Linked DNA regions of Homo sapiens: regions 1 and 3 are each linked to region 2. The links are contacts of gene promoters, found by promoter capture Hi-C in human tissues and cell types (Jung and others, 2019). All regions are on one chromosome and are shown on one strand. Each heading gives the region's core, a stretch centred on a gene start or on the middle of the fragment in contact. The rest is flanking DNA. Distances are from core to core; before and after follow the strand shown. Region 1 has its middle 160 kb from the start of ROBO1. Region 2 holds the start of ROBO1 (roundabout guidance receptor 1). Region 3 has its middle 140 kb from the start of ROBO1.

The links. Contacts are between HindIII fragments. The study calls those that stand out against the background at their distance.
Region 1: a contact is called between a fragment that was not itself captured here and the fragment with the promoter of ROBO1 in region 2, in 2 of the 25 tissues and cell types used here (dorsolateral prefrontal cortex and pancreas).
Region 3: a contact is called between a fragment that was not itself captured here and the fragment with the promoter of ROBO1 in region 2, in 2 of the 25 tissues and cell types used here (aorta and hippocampus).

What each region holds. Positions count from the first base shown.
Region 1 is chr3:79,927,399-79,930,522 of GRCh38, reverse strand. No RefSeq gene overlaps it. Among named protein-coding and RNA genes, the nearest start is that of ROBO1, 160 kb to the right of the region's middle. The HindIII fragment of the contact is 4,280 bases long and covers 1-3,124 here.
Region 2 is chr3:79,766,460-79,769,442 of GRCh38, reverse strand. ROBO1 (roundabout guidance receptor 1) reads left to right here and starts at 1,445. Exons shown (of 31, transcript NM_002941.4): 1 at 1,445-1,691. The HindIII fragment of the contact is 15,501 bases long and covers 1-2,983 here.
Region 3 is chr3:79,904,287-79,907,512 of GRCh38, reverse strand. No RefSeq gene overlaps it. Among named protein-coding and RNA genes, the nearest start is that of ROBO1, 140 kb to the right of the region's middle. The HindIII fragment of the contact is 3,244 bases long and covers 1-3,018 here.

The sequences.
Region 1 (3,124 bases), core at 352-2,851, 160 kb before region 2:
ACCTCTGTGGCCAGGAGTGTCTTCCGCCTGAGTATTGGTCACACCTGCTGGGCTCATTCCACCCACTTGGCTTGGCAGTCAGCACTCAGCCTGCACTACCGGCCTGGATCACACACCTGCCAAGGGCGAGCCAGGCGTGGAGCAGTGAGGGATGTGTGGGCTAGCGAGTGTGGGGTCCAGCCACAGGGCACAGCCAGGCATGCTGGCTGCTGTGGTAGGGCGGGCAGTTCCAGGTGCTGGCACAGGTGCTGGCTCTGAGTGAGGCTGTGGCTGGACCAGATGTTCTGCATGCGGCTTCTGCTGTGGGCACCTGCATCTGGATGAGGGAAACTCTTTGGCACCTGGAGGCATGGAGACACCAGGAACTGCAGAGCCCCAAAGAGGGTGTCATGGCCCTGGTATAGGGAGCCCCTAAGTATGGGCTCCCCAAAGGGCCACATCGCTTCTCTCCTTCTCCTCGCCCACAACATGGTGAGTGGGAGAGAGTGTTTCAGCCCTGTTTGTGTTACAGTTCTTTCATTCCATCCATTTGGTTGGTCCCAAGTTCTTGTCCTGCGTCCTGGAAGAATGAAGTACGCAGGCAACTGATAGGTGAGCAAGGCAAATAGGAGCTTCAGTGAGCAACAAAACAGCTCTCAGGAGACCCACAGTGGGTAGCTCCTTTCAACAGGCAGGTTGTCCCAAAAAGCTTTCCAGCTCTCAGTGGAGAGGAAACATTTAGCAGGTAGCTCCTTTCCAAAGGCAGGTCATCTCCAGTCGTGGAGACTCAAAGTGGGTAGCTCCTTCCCACAGCTGGTAGTCCCAATGTCTGTCTGAGTCTAGCTGAGTCTGGGTTTTTATGGGCTCTGAAGGGAGGAAATGCATACTGATTGGTCAAGGGGTGGCCATGAGGGGGCCTGGAAAAAGCACCATAAGCTCTCACTCTGTGCCATGGACTCCAAGGAGAACTGGCAGCCTGGCCTCTAGGCTTCAGGCCATCCCTGGCTTGAAGGTAGGGTTTCACCAGGGACCTGCCTTTTTCTGCCCAGGGGCCCGTCTACCTCCTGCTGCCATCAAAATGCCATCCACAGCACCCAGGCTGTTCATGCCTAGATGTGCTTTCAGGCCCACACTGAGCCGCTCTCAGCACCCCCTCAGCCTCCTTCCATGACACCCAGACTGTTCATGCTGAGCAGTGCTTGCACGCTCACCCTGAGCCACCCCTCAGCCTCCTTCCATGACACTCAGGCTGTTCATGCTGAAGGGTGCTTGCAGGCCCACACTGAGCCACCCTCAGCACTCCCTCAGCCTCCTTCCTGTGCTCATCAGTGCCCAAAGTGTGGAGGTGGCCAAGGTGGCACCATCCTGAGTGCACTCACACCTGGGTGTGTTGTGACAGAACCCAGGTTCAGCCACAACTTGGCTCCACCCCAAAGCAGTGGGGAGTGGGAGTGGGGAGAGGCCAGGGAACAGGAGCAGGTAGTTCCAAACCTGCAGGGGCAAGGGGCTTCCTGAGCCCCTGAGAGCACAGGGATGCTGGGGTCTGGAGCTGTGGCTGGGTGGCTGCAGCTATGCCCAAGATCACAGGCTCCTGCCCCACCAACCTGGTAGGGTGTGGGGCTCTCACTTTTTCTTGGCTCTCACTGGACCGTGAAGCACACAGCCCCAGCTGTGCCTCCTCTGCTACAGCTGACACCCTCACAGTGGCCACTCCAGACAGGTCGTCACAGGCATCAAAATGAGTTATATATTTTTTAAATTGTACAACTGGAACAATCAAATTTGGTCAGATATATACATAAATGGACATATGGCATATGTATATGTAAAATAGATTTTGAGAATCCATTGACACAATATTTTGAAAACCAGACATTTTGAAGTGTAGCAAATAAGAACTCTAAAAAATTTTTAATTTGGGATGAGAGAATAAAATCTAAGCAAATTTGACTACTTTGAAAGAATTGAGTGAATGCATTTGACCACAAAATTCAAATTACTGTTGGTAAAAAATTATGCACATTTGAAAGCGGAAGTAGGGTAGGCAGAATAAAGGAAGGAAGATAATTTTGATCTTGAAGTTGAGGGTCAATCTTTATTTTAGAGAGTTCATTGGATTACACTTTATGCATAATATAATTAATACAGTTGAGTGATATTGTTTTTATAGCCATAACATCATTAACATTAATCTAAACTCAATAATAGTGAATCATTGCTATTTTTTAATGACTTAACATTCTCAGGACAATAGGAAACAATTGAGGTACCCTAAGCAAATACTTTCTTCCTCTTTTTTTTTTACTTTATTTATTCATTTTTTTAAGACAGGATCTCACTCTATTACCCAGGCTGGAGTGCAGTGGCCTGTTTAAGGCTCACTGCACTCTCAACTTCCTGAGCTCAAGGGATCTTCCCATCTCAGCCTCCCAAGCAGCTGGGACCTCAGGCACATGTTCAATGATAGACTGGATAAAGAATATGTGGTACATATACACCATGGAATACTATGCAGCCATAAAAGGAACGAGATCATGTCCTTTGCATGGACATGGATGGAGATGGAAGCCATTATTCTCACCAAACTAAAGCAGGAACAGAAAACCGAACACTGCATGTTCTCTCTTGTAAGTAGGAGCTGCACAATGTGAACACATAGACACAGGGAGGGAACAACACACACTGGGGCCTGTGTGGGGGTGGGAGGAGAAAGAACATCAGGAAATCTATGTAATGCATGCAGGACTTACCACCTTGGTGAGGGGTTGATGGGTGCAGCAAACAACCACGGCACATGTTTACCTATGTAACAAATTTGCACATCCTGCACATGTACCCCAGAACTTAAAATAAATAAAATCTAAAAAAATAAATAAAATAAAATTCTAACAATTCTAACTCATTTTTTTCATGGACTCATTGTCACTTCCACTTTTCTAAAATACTTAACCTCCAAGTATAAGGACATGTCCATAGTCAATGTACACTTTACAAGCATTGTTGGAGAATGTGGGAAAGCATTGAGGCAATTTTACTTTTGTTTCACTAAAGAAAAACTAATGTGTAAAAATATCAGATTGTGGCCAATATTTAAGACTACATGCTGACACCATGGAACTGGGACAAAAAGAAAGATGCCAGTGAA
Region 2 (2,983 bases), core at 196-2,695:
AAGGCAACCTGGACTTGAAGTTAACACTTCTGTTGTCAAGGGTTACTGATTGGGGGAAGGGAAGGGGCTGTAAAGGGAAAGAGTTACGGAAATGAAGAGGGATTGTAGCACACACTACATAAATTCAAATGCTTTACATGTATTTGGAATAAGATCTCGAGTCTGTTGTATTTTTGCATTGTGTTTTCATTTATTTAGTTTACACATAGGTAGTGAATTTATAGGTTGGTTGATGTTAACCTTATCCAGAGTGGCCCTTTCCAACAATGTTCATTCAGTTGTACATTACATATATGTAATAATTTTGTAATTAAATTGGAATTTATCACAATTATTTACATCAAAGACAATAAAATTATGTTACTTCCTAAATTATAATATCAGTAAATATCGTATCTAGGATTTTGTGGAAAGTCTATGTCATTTTAGTTTAAATAAGGATTTCTCTTTTCCTCCACAAAATTAAAGGTCAAAGAAAACAGCATGTTTAAGACTTCAAATTAATATATATTAAGATTCAGCATTTAATATTCTAATTCTTAAAATAACTGGCTTTACCGATGATGAACTAAAGTGATTTTGCACACTATTACAATATTTCAAATTGCTAGTCACCACAGGTCGGCCTCACTTTAAATCTCCTTGTTATGCCAATTTGCATTACTAATGAACTTGCTAAGAGAGAAACTGTAAAAAGATAATGTAGCAATTAATAGTAAATGCTTGACATACTGTGACATTATAATACCTTTATGTTGATTTATATCTTTATGTCAATATTTACAAGGAAAATATTTTTGAATTTCTAATTTTGCGAAGTAAAAATGATGCTGACGCCATTGTCATTGATGGAATTTTTTCTGTAGCATTTGACTAATATAACCCGTGTTTTATAATTGGTAGACTCATATTTTAGCTTCTACTATCTACTACCCATGTAAGGTATTTTATTTGTAGTAGCTATGAATTGTAAATACAATTGGGTGTTGTGTGTACCTACGTGAAGTGCAGAAGTATTTGATTATATAAAATTTCCTGGATTTATATGAGAATAATGCATAATAGAGAGCAAAAGAGGGTTTTCCTGCCAAAAGTGTCTGTGTGAATTTTCCTTCGAAAATGTTCTTTTAAAATCCTTTGTATGATCAAAGCCACTCCACACAGACAATTAAAAGCAGCTATGGAATGATAGATCACATGACAGGAGTTAAATGTAAGGGTTTTTTTTTTTTTTTTTCCTCCCCCCTCGGTTAAACATCGCAGCAGGCATTACAATACCAGAGGTAACGAATCAATTAAATCCATTTTCCCCTCGGCGTCTCCAAAGCTGCGTGCCTAGTGTTGCTGTGTAGTTTAGACCGGAGCAGTAGGACCCAGGGGCCTCCGCAGCCACCAATAGAAGCGCACACTTGGACCTATTTGTATGCAATGCCTTCTGCTCTGCGCATTAATAGTAATACAGATAACGGGTTTGAAAGAATTCTCTACTGAAGAAGGATTGAATTTTTCCAGGGTGCTGATACAGAGAAGAAACCCGACTTCACTCTCTCCCTATTTCCCCACTCTTAGGTTTAAAAGTCTGTCACCTTTCGCTTGGTTTAAACTCGGAAAGGTCTCAGTGCACAGCAAAGTTGCAGGGCTGCGTCTGCACTACGGAGCCTCTAGATTGCTGAAAACAGTCTTATGGAAGGGTAAGTCTCGGAAATGGTTGCAAGGGAAGTGACAGCTGGCTTTTGATTTGTAAAAGGGGACACGCTGGGTTTTACACTAGTGGTTGTTGGAGTGCAGAATGGTTGCCGAGAGGACTCTGCAGTTTATCCAGAAATTGTGGCTGATGCGCCAGGGTGTTTTGGGGTAGAATCAAAAACCTTCAGGCTAAATCGGAAATTGCAGCCTTGCGATCGGGAGGGATTCAACAAGTTTTCCTGCAGGGATGCGATGTTTGTTTCTTCCTTGCCAGTTGTGCAGAGTGTCCGTTCCAGGTAGGCTGCGGCTGCTTAACAAAGAAGTTTTGGAATTTGTTTGTTGTGTGTGTGGCTGGGCTAACCCTTGTTGGAGTAGGTTTCGTGCCGCTTTTGGCTTCTTGGGGGCACACAGCGGAATTTGCTCTAGGGATGCGGCGAGCATCAGCGGTGTAGTGGGCTGGGGCCGGGCAACTTTGCAGCCTAATCTCAGTGCCGCTGACCGCACCGTTGTTCGTGATGTGAGCTGACTGAGGCATAGACACGGGCAGGCTGCAGGGAGCTTCCAAACTTTGAAAGCATTCTCCAGGAATGGATGCGCGTGGGGGCTTTGAAAATAAGCGTTACTAGGTGGATTTTGGTAAACTCTTGGCGGTATGTAGGCAGTGGGGACTTTTGACACTTGCATTTCCAACCTGCAGGATTTTGCTTGAAAACATGGTGCTGATGTGAAGACGAGAGCTTAAAGCTAAGCCAGCGGGGACTTTGAGGGAGGAAATGAGGGAGGGAAGGAGGAAGAATGAGAGAAGACAGATGAATGAAAAAGGTGCGTCCCATCTTTCACACACAAAAACCACACGAGTGGGACGAACCAGGAAGCGCTCCAGTTGGTGGCGTTTAGCTGGAAAACGTATTGCAGGGAGGTCCAGGAGCCTCTGCATTATTGATGAAACGCCGTGCCCTTCTGGGGCCCCTTCTTGCTCCTTCTCCCTGCCCCATCTTGCCAGCCCCGCTTCCATGAGCCTTCGGTTCCAGCGTTGGCGCGGGTGCGGCTGCGCGCGCGGCTGGGTCCCACAGCTCTGAGAACACAATGGGGAGAAGCAGGCGAGCCCTGCGGGCGGCCGATGCGGAAAACTCGGCGTGGCAACCCCACTGCTGCAGCCTGGGCTGCCGCTCCACCCGGGGCAGCGGCGCTGCAGAGACGGCTTCTGCCCAGTTGCCACGCGCCCTGAGGTCTCGGAGGACCGCGTGGAGGGCGCTCACACCTGGCCGCTAAAATCCTGGGATACCCTTCTAGGAGT
Region 3 (3,226 bases), core at 147-2,646, 140 kb before region 2:
AATTATCAGAAGGGAGGCAAGGATTGGAAAAAGAGTCTGTTTTTGATAAGATGAAATGATTCTTGTAGGATGTAAATCTATCTTGAGGACTTTTCTCCTCATTACTTTGGTTTCTACCAAAAAAAAAAAAAAAGTGGTATCAGGCAACCCAGATGCTGGAAATTGAAGAAGCAACGCTATAATAATCTCTTTGATTGGAGATGATGGAGGCACAAAAATAGCAAAAAGACTGTGAGCACTAAATGAAGACATGTGAATAAATGCCACAGCCCTAGATCAAAGCACATATCCCAGGATGACTTATTTAAAAGTATGTTTATTAGAGCTGTAAATAAAATTAAAACCTGGAACAAGTTATTTACAATGTCATAATGATAATGGTGCTAAGAAATAATATTTTTAAAATTACTTTAAGATCAATCAACAAATATTTACTGTTAGAGGTATCAAGATGTTTTTAAATTAAAGAAAAAGTTCTGTGCATTGCTTTTGCCTGACACTTAATTAAGAAAAGCATTTAATTGGCTTAAATCTGTAAATTCAGTTCCTGCACATTAGACATATTGCCTTAACCATACTTTGGTTTTGGGCTTTAAAAATCATATTATATATTAAGTGGTAATAATTTTCTTCAAAGTTTTCCCTCTTCAACTTAAATATCTAGCCATAGCAATAATTTTATAGTTAGGAAGTGATAGCTAAATCAATTGAAATAAGTCATTAGTGAATTTCCAGACATATCAGTATGTTGAACTACTTCAAAAATGTCTTACAATTTCCTCTCAATCTTAGTGAACAAACTGCTCTTCTGTAATATGAAATATAAGGATTCCTGGTTCTGAATGATAATTAAAGAAATCTTAATTTAGAAAGGGTAATAACATTTTAATTGCAAAACGTAAATGGTGCAACATGACTTTTAGTTGTATATTCCTTGAATTTGCTACTTAATATTTGAAAACGGATTTTCTTTTCCTTTGTATTATCTTAGGATCTACGGAGTATTTTTCCATCCTTCATATTACTTTTTTATTCCTCCAACATATAATCATAATGTCTTTTCTCTCACTGAGCTCCTGAGTGGCTGCAAGGCACAAACGTGTCTAATGCAAATGCTAGGAAGGCTCTAGTGGACTTCTGAGACCTCAGTCAAGGAATAGTGTTGGAATGCAAGCTTGCCTCACATAAACCTCAAGGCTACAGATTACTCATTTTGAGCGAAAAAGATACTGCTGTTTTATTTTGAAAACAAGATTCATATTACAACTCTACACAGTGCAAATTATTTGAAAGGTATTTTTTCCTAGTCACGTTCATGTATTTATCACTTAGAGATCTACTTCTAAACAAATGCTTTAGATATATTGCCTGCGATTGGATCCACAAAAATTCATCTCCAGGAGTAAAATTTAGCATCTGCTCCAGAAAAACCCTTCTCAGGGCTGGAAATCAGGGGCCAGGGATATTTCGACAGCAACAAGAACAAAAATTGGAATGCTCCACAGATGAAGGCTGTTTTGTTTCTCAATGTTATTTTATTTTCTCTTTCCAAGTAAAAATCATTGGAAAACTATCATCTTTTTTTCTGTGTCGAGCTTTTTTTAATAAAGTAATAGCAACCTACAAATTTACAGAGAAAATAATCTTAAGTATTTTTAGAATGAATTAAGCTTTATGAAAATTTACTGCATTGGTTTTATGTTTATGTTCCATATCTTATCTCTGACAGGTAAAATCTTTGTCTTAAATCCAGCAAGCTTCATAAATTGAAAACTAGGAAAAGCACTAGATTGCAGAGAGCCCTGGGTGTCTATTGTGATACCTTTAAATCTTTAATGGAACTGAAAATTAAACAGAGAGAATAATTTTTAGTTAATGAGTATATCTATAATAATACAAGATATAACTATTTTTATCATATTTGAAGAATATGATTAAGATTCATTTGTTATATATTCAGTGTATTTGGGAAGAAACGATGAAAACTTAGAACATACACAATGGCTTAAGAATGAATATGCGTGCAAAGCAGGAGGTATCTAGGCAGTATGTGAGTGAGCAGTCAAGTGCAGCATGGCTTGGTGAAGAGCGATGGAGTGGGAGCAATGGATTTATCCCAGGAGCCTGTAAATGAGAGGGGTAGTTAATCTGGCATTGTAGAAGTGCTTCTTTGCATCTTGAAGGAAGAGGTGGTGTTAGCTACCACCAAAATGTGCAGTAAAATGAATTCCATAAAGAAGAGACATGAGCGAACACCAAAGCTAATAAAAAAGAGCAAGGTATTTTTGAGAAAAGTAAATGCGGTGTTTCCTGGTTTCACTTAGGAATTAACCGCGACAGGCCCCGGTGTGTGATGTTCCCCATGCTGTGTCCAAGTGTTCTCATTGTTCAATTCCCACCTATGAGTGAGAACATGCAGTGTTTGGTTTTCTGTCCTTGGGATACTTTGCTCAGCCTAGAACTTAAAGTATAATAATGAAAAAATAAAAATTAAAAGAAACTTCTTCTAACTGGAAGGCCTTTAAGGGAACTTGGGAGATGAAATTGAAAGCCTTTAGGTGGTGTACTCAAGCCAAAGACAGGGTTAGCCAGTAACCACGCACTTGATTAGACAAGCTGCAAAGTTGGGTGTTCTTACTTTTAATAATATACGCTTGACCATGAGTCATATTTTTCAAAAAGTAACAATCTCTCTTATTTGTAAAGGTTTTGCAAGCTTAAACATTTAAATGAAGAGAAATACACTAAATTATTTCAAAAGTTCACATTAAAATATTTGAAAGCCATTTGAAAAATATTTGAATATATCATTCTTGTTATATAGGTTTTTTATAAAGTATCTTTAAGAGCAAATAGACTTGCTATGAGTTTATGAATATGTGTGCAAACCCATTTATTATCTGCCTATATAAAATAATTCTGTTATAATAATGGATGGATATTACAAAAAGGTTTCCTTTTACATTTAATGTAAAATAGATATTCTTGCTATCTTCTTTTTCTTCTTCGTATTGATTTATTTTATGATTAAATCCTCAAAAGGGCAATGAATGACAACAAAATTGATTTTTAGTTTCAAAACTGTTAAATAAAACATCTGGCATCATGTTCAGATGCCAGTGTTTTGGGAAATTTCTCCTGTTTTAGAGGTCACTGTAAGTATCAGGTAATGTATGAAGACAAATCCACTGAACAATTTTAAGAAGATTATGTATTGTCCTCAAGA